4 separate regions of the Homo sapiens genome follow, and regions 1, 2 and 3 are each linked to region 4. Evidence: promoter capture Hi-C in 16 types of primary human blood cells and fetal thymus (Javierre and others, 2016). All regions are on one chromosome and are shown on one strand. Each heading gives the region's core, a stretch centred on a gene start or on the middle of the fragment in contact. The rest is flanking DNA. Distances are from core to core; before and after follow the strand shown.

The links. The method cuts DNA at HindIII sites, captures the fragments that hold promoters and counts their contacts. A CHiCAGO score of 5 or more calls a contact.
Region 1: a contact is called between a fragment that was not itself captured here and the fragment with the promoter of L3MBTL2 in region 4, in 10 of 17 cell types (naive CD8 T cells, naive CD4 T cells, monocytes and 7 more). The highest score is 9.6, in naive CD8 T cells.
Region 2: a fragment that was not itself captured here is called in contact with the fragment with the promoter of L3MBTL2 in region 4 in 1 of 17 cell types (M2 macrophages); the score reaches 5.2 in M2 macrophages.
Region 3: a fragment that was not itself captured here is called in contact with the fragment with the promoter of L3MBTL2 in region 4 in 1 of 17 cell types (M1 macrophages); the score reaches 5.1 in M1 macrophages.

What each region holds. Positions count from the first base shown.
Region 1 is chr22:40,856,781-40,859,480 of GRCh38, forward strand. It overlaps XPNPEP3 (X-prolyl aminopeptidase 3), which reads left to right and starts at 368. Exons shown (of 10, transcript NM_022098.4): 1 at 368-465. The coding sequence starts at 402. RefSeq lists enhancers at 1-356, 1-203, 214-673. The HindIII fragment of the contact is 725 bases long and covers 1,015-1,739 here.
Region 2 is chr22:40,872,851-40,875,550 of GRCh38, forward strand. The region is part of intron 2 of XPNPEP3 (X-prolyl aminopeptidase 3); the gene reads left to right. It overlaps LOC124905124 (a long non-coding RNA gene), which reads right to left. Exons shown (of 3, transcript XR_007068111.1): 3 at 2,497-2,700. Among named protein-coding and RNA genes, the nearest start is that of DNAJB7, 12 kb to the left of the region's middle. The HindIII fragment of the contact is 272 bases long and covers 1,216-1,487 here.
Region 3 is chr22:40,836,289-40,838,988 of GRCh38, forward strand. All of the region lies in intron 5 of ST13 (ST13 Hsp70 interacting protein), which reads right to left. Among named protein-coding and RNA genes, the nearest start is that of SLC25A17, 18 kb to the left of the region's middle. The HindIII fragment of the contact is 2,318 bases long and covers 276-2,593 here.
Region 4 is chr22:41,204,038-41,206,737 of GRCh38, forward strand. It overlaps L3MBTL2 (L3MBTL histone methyl-lysine binding protein 2), which reads left to right and starts at 1,275. Exons shown (of 17, transcript NM_031488.5): 1 at 1,275-1,349. The coding sequence starts at 1,326. RefSeq lists an enhancer at 2,119-2,619. The HindIII fragment of the contact is 3,698 bases long and covers 1-2,700 here.

The DNA.
Region 1 (2,700 bases), core at 127-2,626, 350 kb before region 4:
GTGCTGTTGCCTGCCTCCCTGCGCATACATTCTCATATTCTTAACTAGGAACCAGCTCCCTGGATGGGGCAACCCCAGAAATGGGCGACTTCAAGGAGGCGGGAGATAACATCCCCTCCAGGGGGCGACGTCCAAGAGCATATTGTGTGGCTGCGTGCACTGAGTAGAGCTCAACGCCCGGGACCTAAAAAAAAAAAAAAAAAAGGGCGTGGAGCCGGAGGGTCGGTCCCAGCTCGGGGCATGACGTCACAACCTGCGCCGCCGCGCAAGGAAGGCCCGCGAGCCGCCTCCGCCGGAAGGGGAGGTGCGGCTGGCCCGGTTTCCTGGCGACGCGGCCCTGCAGGCGGTTGCGTTCCCCGTCGTTACCCTCTTTCTCTTCCCGACGCGTGAGTTAGGCCGTAATGCCTTGGCTGCTCTCAGCCCCCAAGCTGGTTCCCGCTGTAGCAAACGTCCGCGGCCTCTCAGGTTAGACTCTTCTCCCACGGTCTCCTCCCATGGTGTCCCCTGGAGGGACCCAAGTTGGTCTCAGGCGATCCCTGGTTCGGCTGACCCTTCTCCTGGTGGGGCCTCCGCTCCCCAACCCTCTGTGCTCCGCGGATTTCTTCTATACCGGCTGCTCCTGGAAAGGGGTGGGCCCAGTGTGTTCTCTACCGTTGAGGTATTTTGTGAAGCCGAAATGACTGCAGAGAGAAAAGTGTGCCATCCCCCAGAGGGGCTGTCTTCCAAGTTACTCGGACTCCGAAGTTGTGGCAATTATCACACTTAAGTGACAAAGTGTCTCACATCAAGTAGCTCTTGTTTCTGTTAGGCGTGAGAGCTTGCTCCAGAATATACACGAAGCATGTTTAGTAACAAATTCTTTCAGCAGCTCCTCTTAGGAGAGGTAACTGTTTCGAAATACTTCTGGGGCGTTCTGTGTCTGAAAGTCCTGTTTGCAAAGACAAGACGAAGGATAAGGAGAATAATTTTTTGTAGGGTGTCCTCTATTGCGAGCAATTAATCTGATGAACATAAAGCTTAATCAGTGAAAACTGAATCACCTTCCTTGCAGGCGGATCTGCCATTGGATCGTATTTCAGTTTTTTGGGTCAATATATGAACAATGTGTGAACCAGAACGTATGGTATTTGACATCAAAGCTATGTCTTGGCATATGTTTATGTTGATATACTTGAATTCATTTAAAATGGAATGTTAATTACATCGACTTCTTACTATAAAAAATAAAAAGTTATTGTCCAGTGCACAGAACTTGTTCTTCAGTTCTCATAGTAAAGCTGCAGAAAGACAACTCTCCGTGGGATTAGGTGAAAAGAAAGATGTGCAATTTTTCAGTCTTTTTTTGAGACAGGCTCTCATTCTGTTGCTCAGACTGGAGTGCAGTGGCAATCTCTGCTCATTTGCAACCTCTGCCTCCTGAGTTCAAGCAATTCTCGTGCCTCAGCCTCCCGAGGTAGCTGGGATTATAGGCGTGTGCCACCACGCCTGGCTAATTTTTGTAATTGTAGTAGAAACCAGGTTTTGCCACGTTGGCCAAGCTGATCTCGAACTCCTGGCCTCAAGCGATCCACCCTCCTCTCTGAGCCACCGCCCCAGGCCTGGAATTTGCTTTTATTTGAAAGGCTCTCCCCAGCCTGACTAAAGGAGCCATACTACCAGAAGGAACACTTGCAAAGGCACAGAACTCTAAAACGGAGTGGCCAGCACTAAGCGTTGCAATCGTTTAGTATGGCTGGAGAAGCTTTTTTTTTTTTTTTTTTTTTTTTGAGACAGAGTCTTGCTCTTGTCGCCCAGGCTGGAGTGCAGTGGCGCGATCTCTTGCCTTACTGCAACCTCCACCTCCCGAGTTCAAGCGATTCTCCTGTCTCAGCCTCCCGAGTAGCTGGGATTACAGGCGCCCGCCACCACGCCTGGCTAATTTATGTGTTTTTAGTAGAGATGGGGTTTCACCATCTTGGCCAGGCTGGTTTTGAACCCCTGACCTCGTGATCCACCCGCCTCGGCCTCCCAAAGTGCTGGGATTACAGGCGTGAGCCACCGCGCCCGGCTTAGGAAAAGATTTTTTGAAAGATGTTCTCAAACAAAATAGTAGGCATTACACGAAAATGATTCTGTGATCAAATACTTTTGGGGAATGCTGCCTTTCATAATGTACATAATAGTTTAATTCTTTTTTTGGAGATGGGGTCTTGCCATGTTGCCCAAAGTAAACTTGAACTCTCACCTCAGCTTCTCAAAGTGTTGCGATTATAAGTGTGAGCCACTGCACCCAGCCCTTAATAGTCTAGGTTTCTGAGAGATGTGTTCCGCAGTAATTTGCAAAATGTGTAAAAATGTATTTGACCATGGACCCCTTTTCTGTGATGAATCTTGAACTGGTATCCCTGGAACAGATTTTGGGAGAAGTTGGGCTAGAGCATAAGATGAGTACAAGGAGCTGATAGGAAATCAAGTTGGGAAAAAAGCTGGTGGCTGGCTCGTGGAGGGCCTTGTATATTATGTTAAGCAAACAATTAGCTTTTTCCTTTAGATGGTGGGAAAACTTTGAGGAATTTTAAGCTATTGAGTAAGATGATTAAATCTAAATTTTTGGTTTTCTGTTAAGAGTGAAGAAATGGACTACAGGGCATGTCATTACATTCTTAAATTTTCTGAGACACTGATTTTTGCTTTAGTTTTTGGAAAATTGCAATTTTTTTT
Region 2 (2,700 bases), core at 102-2,601, 330 kb before region 4:
GACAGCAAGACATTCATCTCAAAAAAACACTGAAACATATCAGAGAATGAACGGGAAGAATCAGTGGAATTCCTAATGAAGCATTATTTCTAAAATTTTTACATTCTTAAAATTAGTTTTAGAATATGTGGTATAGTTTGGAATGCTAGGTTTAAAAAGGGCTACTCAGGGAGTTGGGCTTGTCAGAATAACTTGTCTGACATATGTAGAACCACTTCATGGTTGTTTTCTTTTTCTTTTTCTTTTTCTTTTTTTTTTTTTTTTTTTTTTTTTGAGACAGAGTCTCGCTCTGTCGCCCAGGCTGGAGTGCAGTGGCGTGATCCGGCTCACTGCAACCTCCGCCTCCCAGATTCAAGCAATTCTCCTGCCTCAGCCTCCAGAGTAGCTGGGACTACACGTGTGCGCCACCACACCTGGCTAATTTTTGTATTTTTAGTAGAGAGGGGGTTTCACCATATTGGTCAGGCTGGTTTTGAACTCCTGACCTTGTGATCTGCCTGCCTTGGCCTCCCAAAGTGCTGGGATTACATGCGTGAGCCACCATGCCTGGCCCACTTCTTGGTTTTCAACTACAGCAGCAAACAGATTTTTAGGGAAATAATCAGAATGCAACTGTGTGGCATGAAATATAAGACGATGCTTTCACCATTTACCGTTTCATCTCTATCGTCAACTATAATGGCAGAAGCCAGGTGCGGTGGCTCACGCCTATAATCCCAGCACTTTGGGAGGCCTGGGCAACGTAGTGAGACCTTATCTCTGCAAAAAAGTAAGCAAAATTAGCTGAGTGTGTTGACAGATGTCTGTAGTCCTAGCTACGCCTATAATCCCAGCACTTTGGGAAGCTGAAGTAGGAGGATTGTTTGAGCCTGGGAAGTCAAGGCTGCAGTCAGCTGAGATTGTGCCACTCCACTTCAGCCTAGGCAACCGAGCAAGACCGTCTCAAAAATAAAATAAAATAGAAATAAAATAAATAAATAAATATAATGGCAGAGACAGTACAGTTACAGTGAATATAATATTTAAAATGATGAAATGATTGATTCTAGAGTGGGTTATAGATAATAATCCCCAAATCTTTTTCCCTTAAGAGTTTCAAAATCAGCTGCCCATCTTTCAGTGATAGTTTAATTGTAGCCGTCTCTTGAGCAAGGGATGCATTTTATTTTTAAAACTTGTTAAATATGGTTGATTTTAATAATATCTAAAAGACAAAGCTTATTTTGGTGGTGGTAAGATTTTTATACTATTTAAAAGATTAAAATGATGCTTGATAACAACTTTGGGGAGTTAGGAAGAAAAATAAAAAATAAATAAAATGATGCTTGAGACCAGGAGGTCAAGGCCGTAGTGAGCCATGATTGCGCCACTGCACTCTAGCCTGGGTGACAGAGTGTTACCCTATCTCAGAAGAATTTAAAAAATTAAAAGGAATCAAGAAATAACAGAAATTGGAAGTGGTTTGAACCTGCCTAGACTGTTGGGTAAGCTTTTTCAAAATATACATACGTGCTAGGACTCTATAAATAGAGTTGTTGAATGAGAATCTCAAAGGGAGGGCTTAGAACATGTGTTTTTGTTTTTGTTTTTTTTGAGACAGGGTCTCACTCTGTTTCCAAGGTTGGAGTACAGTGCCGAGATCATGGCTCACTGGAGTCTTGACCTCCGGGGGTCAAACAATCTTCCTGTCTCAACCTCCTGAATAGCTGGGACTACAGGCATGCACCATCATGCCCAGCTAATTTTTATATTTTTTATAGAGATAAGGTCTCACTATGTTGCCCAGGCTGGTCTTGAACTCCTGGACTCAAGCAATTCTACCACCTTGGCCCCCCAAAGTGCTGGAATTATAGGCATGAGCCACCATACCCAACCGGAACATGTGTTTTGAAGAGCTCCCCGGGCGTTTCTCACATACACCACTAACCTAGTGGGTACTCATTTAGCTAGGTGCATGAGATGCCTGATGACTTAAGGGGACAAGCCAGTTCTGTGGCCATTGGTCATGTTTTAAAGCAGAGAATGTGCCTTCCACATGCCTCTGTAGTCTCATCCCCAGTCACTCAGTCCTTAAATTCATTCACATCTTTATCATCATCACCACCATCAATAAGTGATGACGTTACATTTATCTAACCATTTCAACACTTTTTTAATAGATTATACCTGATAGAATAGTAGACTAAAAGTTTTGTATCCTACAGGTTTTAAATTTAAGTTGAAGGTCTACTTTTTCTATAAGTACTTCACCATGAAGCCCACCTGTTTTATAAAGTAATATATTTTATTTTCTCACCCCAATGTACCTATGTAATTTTATTTGTTTTTGTTTTTGCTTTTTTTGAGATGGGGTCTTGCTCTGTCTCCCAGGCTAAACTGCAGCGGCATGATCATATCTCACTGCAGTCTCGACCTCCCAAGCGATCCTCCCACTTCAGTTTCCCAAGTAGCTAGGACTACAGGCATAAGCCACCATGCCTGGCTAATTTTTTAAATTTTTGTAGAGATGGGATCTCACTTTGTTGCCAGGGCTTACTTATATAATTTTTTTAAATCACTGTATTCATAGTGATTAAATGTTTCCTCTTGTCTTCATCTCCTGATTCAATTTTAATGCAGAATAAATAATGTAGTCTCTATGTAAATAAATTTATAGATGAATAAACCTGTTTTTTACTTACATGTCTAGTACATATTGAT
Region 3 (2,700 bases), core at 185-2,684, 370 kb before region 4:
AAAATACAAAAAATTAGCTGGGCGTGGGGGCGGAGCCCTGTAGTCCCAGCCACTTGGGAGGCTGAGGAGTGGCGCGAACCCGGGAGGCGGAGCTTCCAGTGAGGCGAGATCACCACTGCACTCCAGCCTGGGTGACACAGCACGACTCCGTCTCAAAAAAATAAAAATAAAAATAAAAGAAAAAAGTAAAAAGATAAAATCAATTTAAAGGATAAGATAAATTAATTTTATTCCATTGATTTTCTTTTATCCATTAAATTAAAAAGAAAAAATTAAGCTTAGAAAGGAAAAGTAACCCATGTTAACTTCACAGGGCTGATTTTAAAAGAAAACAACAATATGCTTATTATTTGAATTCAAAGAAATGGTACAAAAATTCAAGAAAACTAGAATTCATAAAAGACCATAACCTATACTTTAATTCATTTTGTCCTATTCTCATAGTTAGCTTCTTTACTAATCCCTTATGTCATTCAACAAATAAAACACCCTATAGAATCAGAAGAGTTCTTTGCACAAAGTCTAAATCTTGGGGAGGCAAGACAAATACAGAATTTTTTTTAAGAGACAGGGTCTAACTCTCACATAGGCTAGAGTACAGTGGCATGATCATAGCTCACAGGCTGAAGTGATCATCCCACCTCAGCTTCCTGAGTAGCTGGGAATACAAGCCCACAACACTAAACCTGGCTAATTAAAAAAAATTTTTTAGAGACTGGGCCTCACTGTGTCACCTAGGCTGCTCTCGAACTCCTGGGCTCCAGTAATCCCCCCAACTCAGCCTTCTGAGTAGCTGGGATTACCACTGTGCCAGGCCGAACACAGAAATTTTTAAATAAATGTCACAATTCACTGTGAAAGATACTTAGCCAGTTAGCGAATGAGTAAAGGACTTGAAAAGAACTCACAAAAACAACACAGAAAAATGCTCAGTCTTATTAATTACTACTACAGGTATCTATTATAGGTAATTACACTTAAATGTCTAATAAACAACTCAGACCTACCATGTTCAAAACCTAAATTTTTTTTATGACAGGGTCTTGGCTGGGCACAGTGGCTCACGCCTGTAATCTCAGCACTTTGGGAGGCCGAGGCAGGTGGATCACCTGAGGTCGGGAGTTCAAGACCAGCCTGACCAACATGGAGAAATACCAAGACCAGCCTGACCAACGTGGAGAAACCCCGTCTCTACTAAAAATATAAAATTAGCCGCATATGGTGGCGCATGCCTGTAATCCCAGCTACTCAGGAATCTGAGGCAGGAGAATCGCTTGAACCCGGGAGGCGGAGGTTGCGGTGAGCCAAGATCGTGCCATTGCACTCCAGTCTGGGCAACAAGACTGAAACTCCATCTCAAAAAAAAAAGGTCTTGCTCTGTCACCCAGGTTGGAGTGCAGTGACACAATCACAGCTCACTGCACCCTCAACTTCCTGGGCTCAAAGGATCCTCCCAGCCTCAAGGGAACCTCCCATCTCAGCCTCTCAAGTAGCTCATATTACAGAAACGTGCTACCACATCCAGCTAATTTTTTGTGTTTAAGAGATGGAGTCTCACTGTGTTGACCAGGCTGATCTTGGACTCTTGGACTCAAGAGATCCTTTCGCTTCGGCCCCTCAAAGTGCTGGGATTGTTAAGTGTGAACCACCACGCCCACTCAAAACCGAAAAACTGAATTCCCATTTCCTAGCCCATTTCCAAATCTATTCCCAATCTGTATCTTCCCAACTAAACAAATGGCTCCTCCATACATTTAGTTCAGGAGTTGGTAAACGTTTTCTGGAAAGGGCCAAATAAGAATTATTTTAATCTCTGCAGACCATACAATCTGTCATAACTACTCAATGATGCTGTTGTAGTGGGAAAGCAGCCACAGTTAAGTGCCAGACGTGGGATTCAAACCATACCACTCTGGCTCCATACTCCAGGTTTTAATTACATTCTCCAAACAAAACTGCCTTCACCAACCTTGGTGGAGCTTGGATTCACAACCCCTGCTTTAGAATACTAATCTTTTATCCTTTAGAATACACTATACAATTGCATAAATTCTAAAATCAGAACTAGATTAAATTTACAAAGGCACATGAACAGAGAGTTCAGAAAAAAGTGAGAAAACAAAAACATGATTAGGTGATAGCCTCATTTTCCTTTTGTTACATATTGCCGAGACAGTAAATTTTAAAATGGGCTGGGCACAGTGCCTCACACCTGTAATCCTAGCACTTTCAGATGCTGAGCTTGGGAGGCCTGCTTGAGGGCAGGAGTTCAAGACGAGCCTGGGCAACAGGATGAAACCCTATCTCTACCAAAAAAAAAAAAAAGAGATAATAATTAGCCAGGCATGGTGGCAGGCACCTGTATTGCCAGCTACTCAGGAAGATTGCTTGAGCCTACAAAACTTGAGGCTGCAGTGAGCCATGACCATGCCACTGCACTCCAAACTGAGTGGCAGAGTAAGACTCTGTCTCTTAAAATTTAGGTGGTAGGGAAATTAGCAAAAGTTTCGTGCGATGAAAAGGAATGGTACAGAAGAGCAATGGCTGGGAACAACTGATAGGTATGAATTAAAAGTTGAAATATGTGAAGAAAAGCTTTCCAGAGAAACAGTATAGCATAAATAAAAAAAAAAAAAAAATTCTAGAACAGTAAAGTCTGACTGGAGAAAACAAGATTGGAGAAGTAAAATACAGGATCTT
Region 4 (2,700 bases), core at 25-2,524:
GGGTGGAAGGGGTTGAAGGAAAGAAAGACCTCTAGGAAGAGTTTGACATCTCCACGGCGGACTTCAAATTTAGGCATATATTTTATATGTATTCAGCCTCCACATATTGCATTTAGAGTCTCAATTAATTCACTGGGACACGGCATGGCATAGGGAAGGAATCTGTACTAAATTTGGAATCCCAATCCTGTGTGATCTTGGAAAGTGCCTAAACCTGAAGTGGTGAAGAGCCACCACTTCCTCTTCTTTCAAACGGTGATAGGATGTCTAAGGGTTTGAAAAGATGTTTGCAAAGCTCCACAACAGCACCTAGAACTCAGGGTGTCTAAGGAGGTTGTGGGAAACCCTAACGGGATGAGGCAGAGAGCCTCAGATTCGAGGTTTTTACCCAGGAGAGAGTGGTGAAGGAGGAATGTTGTAAGATTTTGAGCAGGCTGGACATTTACAGTATTGAGAAAAAGAATATTCCAGTTTCAGCCGGGCGCGGTGGTTCACGCCTGTAATCCCAGCACTTTGGGAGGCCGAGGCGGGTGGATCCCGAGGTCAGGAGTTCAAGACCAGCCTGGTGAAACCCCGTCTCTACTAAAAAATACAAAAATTAGCCGGGCTTGGTGGTGGGCGCCTGTAGTCCCAGTTACTTGGGAGGCTGAGGCAGGAGAATCGCTTGAACCTGGCAGGCGTAGGTTGCAGTGAACCGAGATCGCGCCACGGCACTCCAGCCTGGGCGACAGGGCAAGACTTCGTCTCAAGAAAACACACACACACACACACACACACACACACACACACACACACACACACACAGAGTATTCCAGTTTCTTCCTTTTTTTTTTCTTTTTAATCTGGAGTAGTCCAGTTTCTGCCTGAGTTGGAAATGAGTCCCTCTGCTATGCATCCCAGCAAAAGGGCACCTTAAATATCTAACCCGGGAGAGTACGAGGTTATTCCTGGAGTCTGGAACAGTGACTATCATAGGTGCTCAATAACCGTTTAGGGAAGAATAACATCCAGTGAAGTCAAGAGGTTGGCGTAATTGGAACACTCGGCGTGAGGCGCACCAGGTTTCCAGCGCCCCTGGTTTCCACGTCGCTATGGTAACGACTCACCCTGCACACATGCGAACTACAATTCCCATAACCGCCCGCGGCTTCCCCGCCCACAGGGAGAGAATGGCGGGAGCAGGCACGGAACCGGCTTTTCCTCCTTCCTGCAGCGTGATTGGCCCGCGGCTCAGGGAGGCGACCAATGAGTGCTCTCGCGGAGAGCGACGGGGCAGGCCAATATGGCTTCCTGCACCTGGTGACGCTTGGCGAAACTGAGGTCTCATGGAGAAGCCCCGGAGTATTGAGGTGAGAAGGCGAGGACTTAGCGTGACTGGGAAAGGGAACTCCGAGAGCCTCGCTCCGTGGGCCCTTCTTTAGGGCTTTTAGCGACGCCTGGAGGGTGGAGGGTGGGAGGATGGATAAACTGAGGTAGTTAAACTGAGCCAGGGGCAGAGGCAATTGACGTTACTTTTTGCCCCTCTCCTGCTGGGGCCAACGTTCGGCGAGGAGTTCAGGGAGGAACAGCCGTCCCTGGCCTGGGGGAAAGGGAACTAGGTTTAGGATCTGAGAGCTCCTGAATCTTCCTTATCCTGCTTGTCTCGTGGCTGTGTTGTTTAGGGCTTGTGAGGCCTGTTACATGAGGTGGGAAGTGAAGGGAGATTAAAGTTGGGTGAACATCACTCCTTGTCTGTAACGTTCACGTGCATTATCTTCCAGTACACTCACAGCAATCATGTATTATTCTTTCGTCTTTGTCGTTCAAGCCACTGAGGCTTAGAGGTGGTGCGACACCCCAGGAAGTTACCCCGGCTGGAAAGTGAAGGAGATTGGCACTAAGTCTGTCCGCCTCTGAAACTTTGCCTGTTATGCTTTTCACACTGTACTGCAACCTGGAACCCACTCATCCTTTTTTTTTTTTCTTTCAGACGGAGTCTTGCTCTGTCACCTAGGCTGGAGTGCAGTGGCGCGATCTCGGCTCACTGCAACCTCCGTCTCCCGGGTTCAAGCAATTCTGTCTCCATCTCCCATGTTCCTGGGATTACAGGCATGTGTCACCACACCCGGCTAATTTTTGTATTTTTAGTAGAGACGAGGTTTTGCCATGTTGGTCGGATTGGTCTCGAACTCCTGACCTCAGGTGATCTGTCTGCTTCACCTCGGCCTCCCAAAGTGCTGGGATTACAGGCATGAGCCACTGCACCCCGCCTCATCCTTTAATCATTTGGTTTCTGGGCACCTTATATTTAAGAGACGGGGTGTTCCTATGTTGCCCTGGCTGGAATGCAGTGGTTACTCACAGGCGTGATGACAACGCACTGCAGCCTCTAACTCTTGGGCTCAAGCAATCCTTACACCTCAGCCTCCTAAGTAGCTGGGACTATAGGTGGTCTCTGTCACCCTGCCTGACAAGGGTACCTATATTTGAATTGTTTCCTTGCTGGGTGCGGTGGCTCACGCCTGTAATCCCAGCACTTTGGGAGGCCGAGGCGGGCAGATCACGAGGTCAGGAGATCGAGACCATCCTGGCTAACATGGTGAAACCCCATCTCTACTAAAAATACAAAAAAATTAGCCGGGCGTGGTGGCAGGCACCTGTAGTCCCAGCTACTCGGGAGGCTGAGGCGGGAGAATGGCGTGAACGTGGGAGGCGGAGCTT